Regions from separate parts of the Homo sapiens genome. Here regions 1 and 3 are each linked to region 2. Evidence: promoter capture Hi-C in 16 types of primary human blood cells and fetal thymus (Javierre and others, 2016). All regions are on one chromosome and are shown on one strand. Each heading gives the region's core, a stretch centred on a gene start or on the middle of the fragment in contact. The rest is flanking DNA. Distances are from core to core; before and after follow the strand shown.

What was found. The method cuts DNA at HindIII sites, captures the fragments that hold promoters and counts their contacts. A CHiCAGO score of 5 or more calls a contact.
Region 1: a contact is called between a fragment that was not itself captured here and the fragment with the promoter of FKBP11 in region 2, in 7 of 17 cell types (total CD8 T cells, total CD4 T cells, naive CD4 T cells and 4 more). The highest score is 8.0, in total CD8 T cells.
Region 3: a contact is called between the fragment with the promoter of DDN here and the fragment with the promoter of FKBP11 in region 2, in 6 of 17 cell types (naive B cells, total B cells, erythroblasts and 3 more). The highest score is 7.0, in naive B cells.

The regions. Positions count from the first base shown.
Region 1 is chr12:48,855,726-48,859,303 of GRCh38, reverse strand. It overlaps RND1 (Rho family GTPase 1), which reads left to right. Exons shown (of 5, transcript NM_014470.4): 5 at 1,063-2,159. The coding sequence ends at 1,308. Among named protein-coding and RNA genes, the nearest start is that of DDX23, 5.4 kb to the right of the region's middle. RefSeq lists an enhancer at 1,706-1,775. The HindIII fragment of the contact is 7,230 bases long and covers 1-3,578 here.
Region 2 is chr12:48,923,516-48,927,301 of GRCh38, reverse strand. FKBP11 (FKBP prolyl isomerase 11) reads left to right here and starts at 1,810. Exons shown (of 6, transcript NM_016594.3): 1 at 1,810-2,002; 2 at 2,191-2,256; 3 at 2,654-2,741; 4 at 3,046-3,079; 5 at 3,450-3,520. The coding sequence starts at 1,874. RefSeq lists enhancers at 1,445-1,544, 2,805-2,864. The HindIII fragment of the contact is 4,966 bases long and covers 1-2,660 here.
Region 3 is chr12:48,997,547-49,001,388 of GRCh38, reverse strand. It overlaps DDN (dendrin), which reads left to right and starts at 2,014. Exons shown (of 2, transcript NM_015086.2): 1 at 2,014-2,310; 2 at 2,723-3,842. The coding sequence starts at 2,102. DDN-AS1 (DDN and PRKAG1 antisense RNA 1) reads right to left here and starts at 3,042. Exons shown (of 2, transcript NR_147179.1): 1 at 2,699-3,042. RefSeq lists enhancers at 1,349-1,643, 3,313-3,382 and silencers at 1,789-2,083, 2,733-3,192, 3,743-3,832. The HindIII fragment of the contact is 4,772 bases long and covers 1,461-3,842 here.

The DNA.
Region 1 (3,578 bases), core at 463-2,962, 68 kb after region 2:
GCCTCCACTGCACCTGACCTGGGGAGCTCTTAAGAATACTAATACCGGCCAGGCGCGGTGGCTCACGCCTGTAATCCCAGCACTTTGGGAGGCTGAGGCGGGCAGATCACAAGGTCAGGAGATCAAGACCATCCTGGCTAACATGGTGAAACACCATCTCTACTAAAAATACAAAAAATTAGCCAGGCGTGTTGGCGGGTGCCTGTAGTCCCAGCTACTCGGGAGGCTGAGGCAGGAGAATGGTGTGAACCCGGGAGGCAGAGCTTGCAGTGAGCCGAGATCGCGCCACTGCACTCCAGCCTGGGCAACAGAGCGAGACTGTTTCAAAAAAAAAAAAAAAAGAAAAGAAAGAAAAAGAAGAATACTAATGCCTTGGCTCTATACCCAGAATTTTTTTTTCCTTTTCCTTTTTTTTTTTTTTTTTTTTCCAGAGACAGGGTCTTACTCTGTCACCCAGAATGAAGTGCAGTGGTGTGATCCTAGCTCACTACAGTGCAGAACTCCTGGGCTCAAGGGATCCTCTCTAGTATTTGAGACTATAGTTGTGTGCCCACTTCCAGTGAATTTTTAAACATTTTTTAAAAGTGTTTATTATTATTTTATTATCTTTATTTTTGAGATTTATTTTTGTAATTCCAAAGCGCTGGGATTATGGGTGTAAGCCACCGCGCCCGGCCACCTAGGCTGGTCTTGAACTCCTGGCCTCCTCAAGTGATCCTCCCATCACAGCCTCCTGAGTAGCTGGGATTAGAGGCACTAGCCACTGCCCCAGCTATCCCCAGAAATTCTAATTTAGTTTGGCATCAATATAGTTTTAAGAGTATTCCAGATGATTTATAATGTGCAGTCAGGCATCGTCTTAAGAAAAAGAGGCATCATCAGACAGGGTGTATGCCAAAAAAAAAAAAAAAAAAGAAAAGATAATCGAATAATCTGCAGAGGGTGGTGTTTGGAGACTGGCAGCTGGGTCCCCTCTGGAGTGGCCCTGGGGAGTGACGCACAGAGGCAGCGTCCCAGAGCCATTTTGGCCCACTGCATTAATGCCCTCACCCCCTCCTGCAGGGTTGTGCAATAGCAAAGCAGCTGGGTGCAGAAATCTACCTGGAAGGCTCAGCTTTCACCTCAGAAAAGAGCATCCACAGCATCTTTCGGACGGCATCCATGCTGTGTCTGAACAAGCCTAGCCCACTGCCCCAGAAGAGCCCTGTCCGAAGCCTCTCCAAACGACTGCTCCACCTCCCCAGTCGCTCTGAACTCATCTCTTCTACCTTCAAGAAGGAAAAGGCCAAAAGCTGTTCCATTATGTGAAGTGGAAATTGGAGGGGGGAGACAACCCCCTACTTCCTCCCTTGGGGTGCAGAGGCACGGGGAGAGGGAGGATGAGACAATTTAGGACACTGGACATGAGTTTTTCAGATGGCCACGGTGAGGGCTTGGAAGGAGACAGGAATGGGGCGAGGAAGGAGCCAGGCCCGGCATGAGGACCTGACGCTGAGAGAGAACCATCATACCCCAAGCCAGGCACTAGATTTTGGAGGGGGCGACTACCCCAGTGCCCCCCCCGCTCCAGAGGAAGGAAAGCTGTGGGGGACGGGGGGCATGCTGGCCTCATGGGCTTGGGGGCCTACAGCAGCCTCACCTTCAGCTTCATGCCTCTTCCACACAGCGTTTCCATGCAGGTCAGGGGATGGGAGGGGTCCCTGAGCCCTTCCCTTCCCCTCTAAGGAGGCAGCAACGGAGAGTGGGGAAGTGGAGCGGCAGCTCCCTTGGGGGCTTAGCCCAGGTGCTTCGTAACTGCAATCGGAAGTGCAGGAGCTGGTCAGAGCCAATGAGAAGGAAACCTCATCTTTGCATAGCCCATGCCTCATGGAGAGGTGACATCATACATTCACATGCTTCTCACCTAAGTCCCCAGGGTCCAAGGGAGAAGCCCCAGACCCCCTTCTCTTGCAGAGTGTGGGGGTGGTGGTGCTGCAGGGGCAGGGCTGGGTGGGGGTCACCAGACTTTTTCTGCCCTTAGGGTAGTACAGCTGGCATTTGTTTTATAGACTCTTGTCTTTGGAATTGGGGGGAGGGGGGGAGTGTTTCAATCTGTTATATGTTCTGTGTTTAATGAAGAAAACCTATTTATTAATGAAAAATATAATACATATAAAGAATTTGGCTCCGTATTTTTTTCTGTTTTCTTTAGTTGTTACAATTGGTATTTTTTTTTTTTGGTCTTTTTTTTTTTTCCTTTTTGTGGAGAACAGGGTCTCGCTATATTGCTCAGGCAGGTCTCAAACTCCTGGGCTCAAGCTATCCTCACATCTCTGCCTCCCTAAGAGCTGGGATTACAGGCATGAGCCACCGTGCTTGAGCCCTTTGGTTGATGATAATGAGAGAAAAGCTGTCCTGGGACCCTTTCTGTGGGTTGCAGAGGGGCTGCCTCCACCATTCCCCAGCTCCTCCAAGAAGGAGCTTCTCTCTTCCCCCATCCCCCTGCCCTAGCCCCACCCAAGACCTACTAAACCAAGGAAGGGCTCCTTAGCCCGAGAGCAGGGGTGCAGGGGTTCTCAACCCTGGAACTATTGACATTTTGGACTGGATAATGCTTTGTTGTGAGGGACTGTCCTATGCAGCCCAAGATGTTTAGCAGTGTCCCTGATCTGGTGGATGCTAGAAGACAGCACCCCACTCTCCAGCTATCACACCCAAAAATGTCTCCAGACGTTGCTAAATGGCCCCTGTGGAAAAATTCTGGTTGAGAACCACTGCCCTGGAGAGTCTAGAGGAGAGAAAAAGGTTGGATGAAATCATCAGTAGAGGATCCAAGCTGCTGAGATTCCACCCCACATAGAAGGTGGACAGACTAAGCCAAAGCTGGGGGAGGCTCCTGGGATTCTGGTCTCCTCTGAGTTCAAGGAGAGGTGACATTTGCCTTCATGACCTTCCAATTCCGATGCCTACTGATGGCAGCTCAGGGGCCTTAACTCTTAACTTCCTTTCTCAGTGACTTATAGCTCTTGTTTTCCAAGTGCCATAGTGTAGTGCTAGTGCCAGAAATAAAGTTAGCATGTACTAGGCCAGGCGCGGTGGCTCAAGCCTGTAATCCCAGAACTTTGGGAGGCTGAGGCAGGTGGATCACAAGGTCGGGAGATCGAGACCATCCTGGCTAACACGGTGAAACCCCATCTCTACTAAAATACAAAAATTAGCCGGGCATGGTGGCACGTGCCTGTAATCCCAACTACTCGGGAGGCTGAGGCAGGAGAATCGCTTAAACCCGGGAGGCAGAGGTTGCAGTGAGCCAAGATTGCGCCACTGCACTCCAACCTGGGCAAAAGAGGGAGACTCCATCTCTAAATAAATAAATAAATAAATAAAGTTAGCATGTACTTAATGAGTGTTCAGCACTGTGCACTGTGTTGAGGGCTTTACATGATCACATTTAGACTCATAAATGATAAGAGCTAACATTTGTTAAATGTTTACTATGGGTCGGGGCACTTACGAGATTTTTCTTTTTTTTTTTTTGAGACAGGGTCTCACTCTGTCGCCCACGCTGGAGTACAGTGGCATGACCACTGCTCACTGCA
Region 2 (3,786 bases), core at 561-3,060:
GAGGGTTGTAGCTATGGGAATGGAAGGGAAGAGCTGGAGAGACTTTGGAAGGAGAATCCAGAGTAGACCCGTTGGATGTGGGAGATGAGAGAAGAACGAATGCTGGTAGCAGAGCCACTAACAGAAACAGGAGATAGGGAGGAAGTCTAGGTTGTTGCAGGTGGATTGGAAGAATGAGTACAGTTAAGACTGTTGGCTGGGCGCATTGGCTCACGCCTGTAATCCCAGCACTTCGGGATGCTGAGGCTGGCGGATCACGAGGTCAGCAGTTTGAGAGCAGTCTGGCCAACATGGCGAAACCCCATCTCTACTAAAAATACAAAAATTAGCCAGGCGTGGTGGTGGGTGCCTATAATCCCAGCTACTCGGGAGGCTGAGAGAAAAGAATCGCTTGAACCCGGGAGGTGGAGGTTGCAGTGAGCCAAGATCGTGCCATTGCACTCCAGCCTGGGCGACAAGAGTGAAACTCCGTCTCAACAAACAACAACAACAAAAACTTTTAAAAAGTGGGCTGGGCGTGGTGGCTCATACCTGTAATCCCAGCACTTTGGAAGGCCGAGGTGGGTGGATCACTTGAGGTTGGGAATTCGAGACCAGCCTGACAGACATGGAGAAACCCTGTCTTTACTAAAAATTCAAAATCAGCTGGGCATGGTGGCGCATGCCTGTAGTCCCAGCTACTCGGGAGCAGAGGTTGCGGTGAGCCAAGATCGCGCCATTGCACTCCAGCCTGGGCAACAGGAGCAAAACTCCTCCCCCTCAAAAAAAAAAAAAAAAAAAGAAATCTGGTGGCTCACGCCTGTAATCCTAGCACTTTGAGAGACCGAGGCAGGCGGATCACCTGACATCAGGAGTTTGAGACCAGCCTGGCCAACATGGTGAAACCCCTTATCTACTAAAAATACAAAAATTAGCCGGGCGTGGTGGCGGGTGTAATCCCAGCTACTTGGGAGGCTGAGGCAGGAGAATCGCTTGAACCTGGGAGGCGGAGGTTGCAGTGAGTGGAGATGGCACCACTGCACTCCAGCCTGGGCCACAGAGCGAGACTCCATCTCAAAAAAAAAAAAAAAAAAAAAAGTGAAGTCTTTACATAAATGGATTACGTGTGCTGCCCTTTGAGAAGTTTGTTGATGAAAGGAGAAAGGAAATAGTAGCACCAGAGGAAAAGATCAGGGATTTACCCTGTTCTTACAGGATAACAGCTCCTTGCTCTTTTCAGCTAGCTTTTCAAAGGACAGGGATAGGACAGCCCCCTGCCTTATTTCGGATACTTGGATCTATAACCTCCAGAAATTCAAGCTGAAGTAGCTGGAGGTCGGAGAGGAATGAGAACTGCCTGGGTGGGGTCTGCCAGCCAGACACTGCCAGGATAGCCACAAGGAGACGACTTGGAAGAACAGACAGCAACCACGTTGGACTCAGGCAGTCCTGGGTTTGAATCCTGTCTCTGTCACCACCTAGCCTGATGACCTTGGGCACATCCTGAGCACCCTGTGCCTTATCTGTAAAATGGAAACAATCATGCCGACCTTTCAGGGTGGTTTTGAGGATTAGAGACTAGCTCCTGACACACAGTAGGTAATCGTAAATGGGTGCTATTGTTTGGCCCGACCCACGTTATAGGACAGAACGTCTAACGGATGCGTCAGAACCTGCGCCCTCCGGATCTTGGAGGGTACAGAGGGCGCCCCTCGGCCTCCTCCCTTTCGGAGGTGGGGACAAGGTGGAGGAAGGGCTGCAGGAGGAGGAGCTCTAGCATCGCGACCCGCCCCGTCCCGTCCAGTCTGGCCTGGGCGCCGCGGGAACGCTGTCCTGGCTGCCGCCACCCGAACAGCCTGTCCTGGTGCCCCGGCTCCCTGCCCCGCGCCCAGTCATGACCCTGCGCCCCTCACTCCTCCCGCTCCATCTGCTGCTGCTGCTGCTGCTCAGTGCGGCGGTGTGCCGGGCTGAGGCTGGGCTCGAAACCGAAAGTCCCGTCCGGACCCTCCAAGTGGAGACCCTGGTGAGGAGATAGTCCCGACCCTCAGCCCCCGTGGGCCGAGCCTTGTTGGGTGGTAATACTGGGGTCTCAGCGAACCTGGGAGCCGGGAGGAGAGGAAGTGCGGGAACTGAGTTGGGGGTGGTGCCGGGTCTAGGGGCGAGAACGGGATCTTTGGAAGAGCATCCGTGACCCCTGTAGTCCGATCGTAGGTGGAGCCCCCAGAACCATGTGCCGAGCCCGCTGCTTTTGGAGACACGCTTCACATACACTACACGGTGAGGGGTCTGGGGGGCCGGGGCGGGGCCTGGGAGGGGGCGGCGCCCTGCTGAAACACGTCAGCTTTGGCTTGGACACGTGGCAAGCGGTTCGGGAGAAGAAACTCGGGGCTCTGGGGTCGTCGAGCACGTGGCGAGGGGAGAGACGTTGCTCTTCCGTGCCTCTTTTCCCTCCTTGCTTTTCTGCCAGTTCCTACCTGGCACGGAGAAGTGCAGGGTGGAGAGATCTCCGAGAAGCGCCAGCCTTCTGGGGCTTCCTGTTCCTTACAGCGGTAAGGGGAACGCTAGGCTGCCGCACTAAGGGGGCTGCCGCCGCCCAGCGGTCCAGGTGTGTGTTGCGCGCCTGCTGGGAGGGAGAGGGTGCTAGATGTATGCTCTTGATGCTCTCTCCCCCCAGGGAAGCTTGGTAGATGGACGTATTATTGACACCTCCCTGACCAGAGACCCTCTGGTTATAGAACTTGGCCAAAAGCAGGTGATTCCAGGTATGTGACCTGTGCCTCCCATTCCACCTCTTCCCAACCTAAGCCCTTTCTTAGCCTCTTCGGCTCCAAAGCTGCCCTGGAAATCCCCCCTGAAATGAGTAAGACCCTAGGGCTCTACGAGTTACCTCCTGAGGTTCAAACCTCACTTCTAGTACTCCACTTGTCCCATATCCTATTGGAAGCCAGAGATTTAAGAAGTGAGGGAAAGGTCAATTGAGGATGGAGGAGGAAGACTTTGATCTTCATGTCATGGGATTTGGGGAAGGTGGATAGCTTCCAGTTCAGTTGTGTCTTCTTCTTCAAGGTCTGGAGCAGAGTCTTCTCGACATGTGTGTGGGGTGAGTATCTCGGCAGGGGTGGGCCTGGGTACCCCCTTTGCATGGGTAGAGGCTTTCTCGGCCATCCTCACTCCTTAAGCAGGAGAATGTGGAATAAAGGACCCTGCTTCCCACTGGACAGGTCCAGGTCAGTGGGACCTCTGAGGGCATTCAAAGCCTCTGTGCCTCTTGCGCTGTTGCTTTTGTCGGGGGAGTTGAGGCACATGGGGAGATGGACACCTTTGCTGGCCAGCCTGTTTGGTGTTCAGGTGGAAAAATTCGTGTTTTGGGTGTGAAGATTCAGGGGGTTTTGCTGAAGGAGCTTCAGCTGGACTGAGGCTGCTGGCCTACCTCTCCTGCCTCTGGCTGTGACTGACATTCCTTCCCTCAGAGAGAAGCGAAGGGCAATCATTCCTTCTCACTTGGCCTATGGAAAACGGGGATTTCCACCATCTGTCCCAGGTAATCTGACTAGGACTCTCTCTCAGGCCATCAAAATACCCAGTCCCTAAGAGCTATAAGGAGCTATATACTTTGTTTGATGCTTGAGAAGATCCAGACCAAGTTTGTTTAGACAGATAGGAGTGGCTGGGGCCTCCATCTACAGGGCCACCTTTTTCCTCCTCATATCACCAACAGGGACTAAAGACAACCTGATGAGGCCACCTGGCATGACCTCCAGCAGCCAGTAACTTGTTAGGGAAGAGACCTGCTTGGGCCACATGGGT
Region 3 (3,842 bases), core at 765-3,264, 74 kb before region 2:
CATCAAGGCCCTCATCAGATTCGACCTGAGGAAGCTTATTTTAAAAAAAGAAGGTGGCCCTCATCAGAGCTCAGCTTTCAGTGTTGCATCATGGCTGTGGAGGAGCCCCTGCTTCTGCCTTCACCCCTTTACAGCTCTCACAGCACATTCTCAACCTTGGGGGAGGAAGGCTTCCAAGTTATTAGAATTAGAGTATGTTTATGTGTCAGGAGGGTAAGCACATGGTGGAAAGGACAGATGGCCCCTTATGTCACATTCCCTCATTAAGGAAGATTTGCCTAGGGAGGAGGCAAGGGCTTTAAAAAGCCTCAGGACTCTAGTGGGACCTAGGGTGGAAGGAAGCATCTTCGAGTCAAGTCATCAGTGCAGCTGGCAGGTGTGTGGAATCAAGGGGGGTAGGGTGGATGGGACGGGATGTTTGCGTTCTCTCTAAAGGTTTGTGTTAGGGAGCAGAGACCTGGTTTTGTTGAGTTGTTTCTCAGTCTGTCAGTCTCTGCCCCACAACCTTTCTGGTTGTTCCCCATCCCCTTAAAAGGAAGGGTCTGGACCCAAAGGGCTCCATGTACATTAGTGGAAAACTAATTGGGAACTCTTGCTTCTCCCATTTCCCTCTAAAACCCAACCTATCCGTCTCAGTGTGAGGATGAAGCTGAGGGAGAGACAAGGGATGAAATTTGGGAGACTCACAAGCTTCTATTCTTACCTATTCCTCTCCAGAGAGGCAAATTATCCCTTCTTCCCGAGGAACCATGCCCCACACACTCTCCCCTCTCTCTGCACTGCTCCCCTCCACTGAAGCTGCTGCCATGGTTGCCAGGCATGGTTGCTAAGTCTCTGCATGGAAGGGTTGGCGTGGGCTGTGCTGCCACTAACATTACCATGGTGAATCAGGGGACACCTGGTATAAGCTTAGGAGGAGGGATCATGTGGATATAAGCAACAGCCCCCCAGGACAGAGGCAGCCCAAAAGGTGAGCATCTGGAGCACCACTTAAGGTGGGGACTGAGTGAACTAGGCATTGTGGTGGTGGTGAGGGGGAGTTCTACATTGAAAAAAATAAAGGCCACTTTTATCATTTCAGTTGCTAGGGGATTAGTTTTGCCAAGCAAACACATCATTTCTCCTCCATCCCCCTCTGGAAGGGTGAGAGTGCATAAGCACTTACTCTGTCCTCCATAAAGCTGGGCAGGCTGTGTGGGCACAGAACAATATAACCCCCAAATCCTGGCTTCTGGATTGGAGGTGAAAGCCTGCTGCTGTGGGAGGGCTCCCTGGCTGCCCAAGGACAAACATGTAGAATGGAACTGGTAGGGCAGCTTGGGTGGCCAAGGCAGACGCCTGTGTCCTGCTGTACCAGCAGTCCTAGGCTGCAGCACTGAGCTGACAAGGAGATACGGGTGTAGGGGTCACCCTTTTTGAGCTTAGGGAAGGCAGCTCTCCCTCAGAGTCGCACAAAAGCTTGGTAAAAGCCACCGCCTCCTCTCTCCACCGCATGGGAGCTGGTTACTCATCTCATCTCTGCACCCGAACAGCCACTGCCGCTAAAAATAGCCCCCCAGCCGTGGGCCAGCCCCTCCTGCACCCCAGCCCCATGGAAACCAGCAGAGTGGCAGGCAGAGACCTTGAGTTCCAATCTCATCACTCTATGTTGGGGAAACTGAAATCTGAGGCAGGAAGCCAGGGGCAGAACCCTGGTGGTCAGGCAACCTGACAAGCAGGAGAGTAAAGGGTTAAAACGGCAGGAAGGTTGAAGAAATAGGGGCGGGGGAGGGGGCACTGTCAGCTTGGCAAGAATCATAAGTCCCTCCCCCGCCCACTCGTGCGATCCCATCAGGCTTGGGGGACAACAGCAGTGGGAAGGGGCGTCCAATCCCGGGCCCCAGGGGGCGGCCGTGCACATGGGGGAGGTAGCAGCGCGGAGCAGTCCGCGCGGTGTCACATGCGCGCGCACACACAGAGACAGGCACACACACGTGTGCCCGGGTATATATAGTTCCCAGTCCCCGGGCCCGCGGCTCTGCAGTGGGCGCCGGCTCCCTGGGCTGGGAGGGGGCTCCTGGGGCGGGTGGGAGGGTGGGGGGCCGGGGTGGGGTGGGGCAGGATGCTGGATGGCCCACTGTTCTCCGAGGGGCCTGACAGCCCCCGGGAGCTCCAGGATGAGGAGTCTGGCAGCTGCCTCTGGGTGCAGAAGTCCAAGCTATTGGTGATAGAAGTGAAGACTATTTCCTGTCATTATAGTCGCCGCGCCCCTTCTCGACAGCCCATGGACTTCCAGGCCAGCCACTGGGCTCGCGGGTTCCAGAACCGCACGTGAGTGAAGCAGGGGTGAGGGGAAGAGAGTGGTGGGGCGGGGAGTGGGGTCCGGACCTCCCCGCAGGCACCAGCGAGCACTGCTGGTCCCCCTTCTCTTTCCCACGCCTTCCACCTCTGCCCGCTCCCGAGGGCTGGGGCCTGACTCATCCCGTTGTTTGGGGGAACAGAAGTGGGTGTGAGAAAGGGCAGGAGGTGAGATGGGGCAGACGCTGTTAAAGTGTGCATGGAGAGATGGCGAGGAGTCCCGCTTCGACTTCAGTCCTAACATATACGCACGTGCACACGCGCACACACTCACACACACCCCTTCACATGGCTGCCCCAAGTGGTCTCCAGTGCTCCCAGCTCCCCGGACCTCGGCTCCCTTCCCCCACAAACTGCTCACCTGGGTTCCTGCTCATTGTCCCAGGTGTGGGCCGCGCCCGGGATCCCCACAGCCGCCGCCCCGCCGGCCCTGGGCCTCCAGGGTGCTGCAGGAGGCGACCAACTGGCGGGCGGGGCCCCTGGCCGAGGTCCGAGCTCGGGAGCAAGAGAAAAGGAAAGCGGCGTCGCAGGAGCGGGAGGCCAAGGAGACCGAGCGAAAAAGGCGCAAGGCTGGTGGGGCCCGACGGAGCCCCCCGGGTCGACCCCGCCCGGAGCCCCGCAACGCCCCTCGGGTGGCCCAGCTGGCAGGGCTCCCTGCTCCCTTGCGGCCGGAGCGCCTGGCGCCTGTGGGGCGAGCGCCCCGTCCATCCGCGCAGCCGCAGAGCGACCCAGGGTCGGCGTGGGCGGGGCCCTGGGGAGGTCGGCGGCCCGGGCCCCCAAGCTACGAGGCTCACCTGCTGCTGAGAGGTTCTGCCGGGACCGCCCCACGACGCCGCTGGGACCGGCCGCCACCCTACGTGGCTCCACCTTCTTACGAAGGCCCCCATAGGACCTTGGGGACTAAGAGAGGCCCCGGGAACTCTCAGGTGCCCACTTCATCAGCCCCAGCTGCGACTCCAGCCAGGACAGACGGAGGGCGCACAAAGAAGAGGCTGGATCCTCGGATCTACCGGGACGTCCTCGGGGCTTGGGGTCTCCGACAGGGGCAAGGTCTCTTGGGGGGATCCCCAGGCTGTGGAGCGGCCAGAGCAAGGCCAGAGCCCGGCAAGGGGGTCGTGGAGAAAAGCCTGGGGCTGGCTGCTGCTGACCTGAACAGTGGTAGCGACAGCCATCCCCAAGCCAAAGCTACAGGGAGCGCAGGCACCGAGATAGCTCCTGCGGGGTCTGCAACTGCGGCTCCCTGTGCCCCGCATCCCGCTCCCAGATCCAGGCACCACCTCAAGGGCTCGAGGGAAGGGAAAGAAGGAGAACAGATCTGGTTTCCCAAATGCTGGATTCCCTCCCCTAAAAAGCAGCCGCCCCGCCATAGCCAGACACTCCCCAGACCCTGGGCTCCCGGAGGCACCGGATGGAGAGAATCTCTGGGTCTTGGAGAGGGGGCAGGACCGGAGACCCTGGAGGGTTGGAAGGCGACCCGCCGTGCCCACACCTTGCCCCGCAGTTCC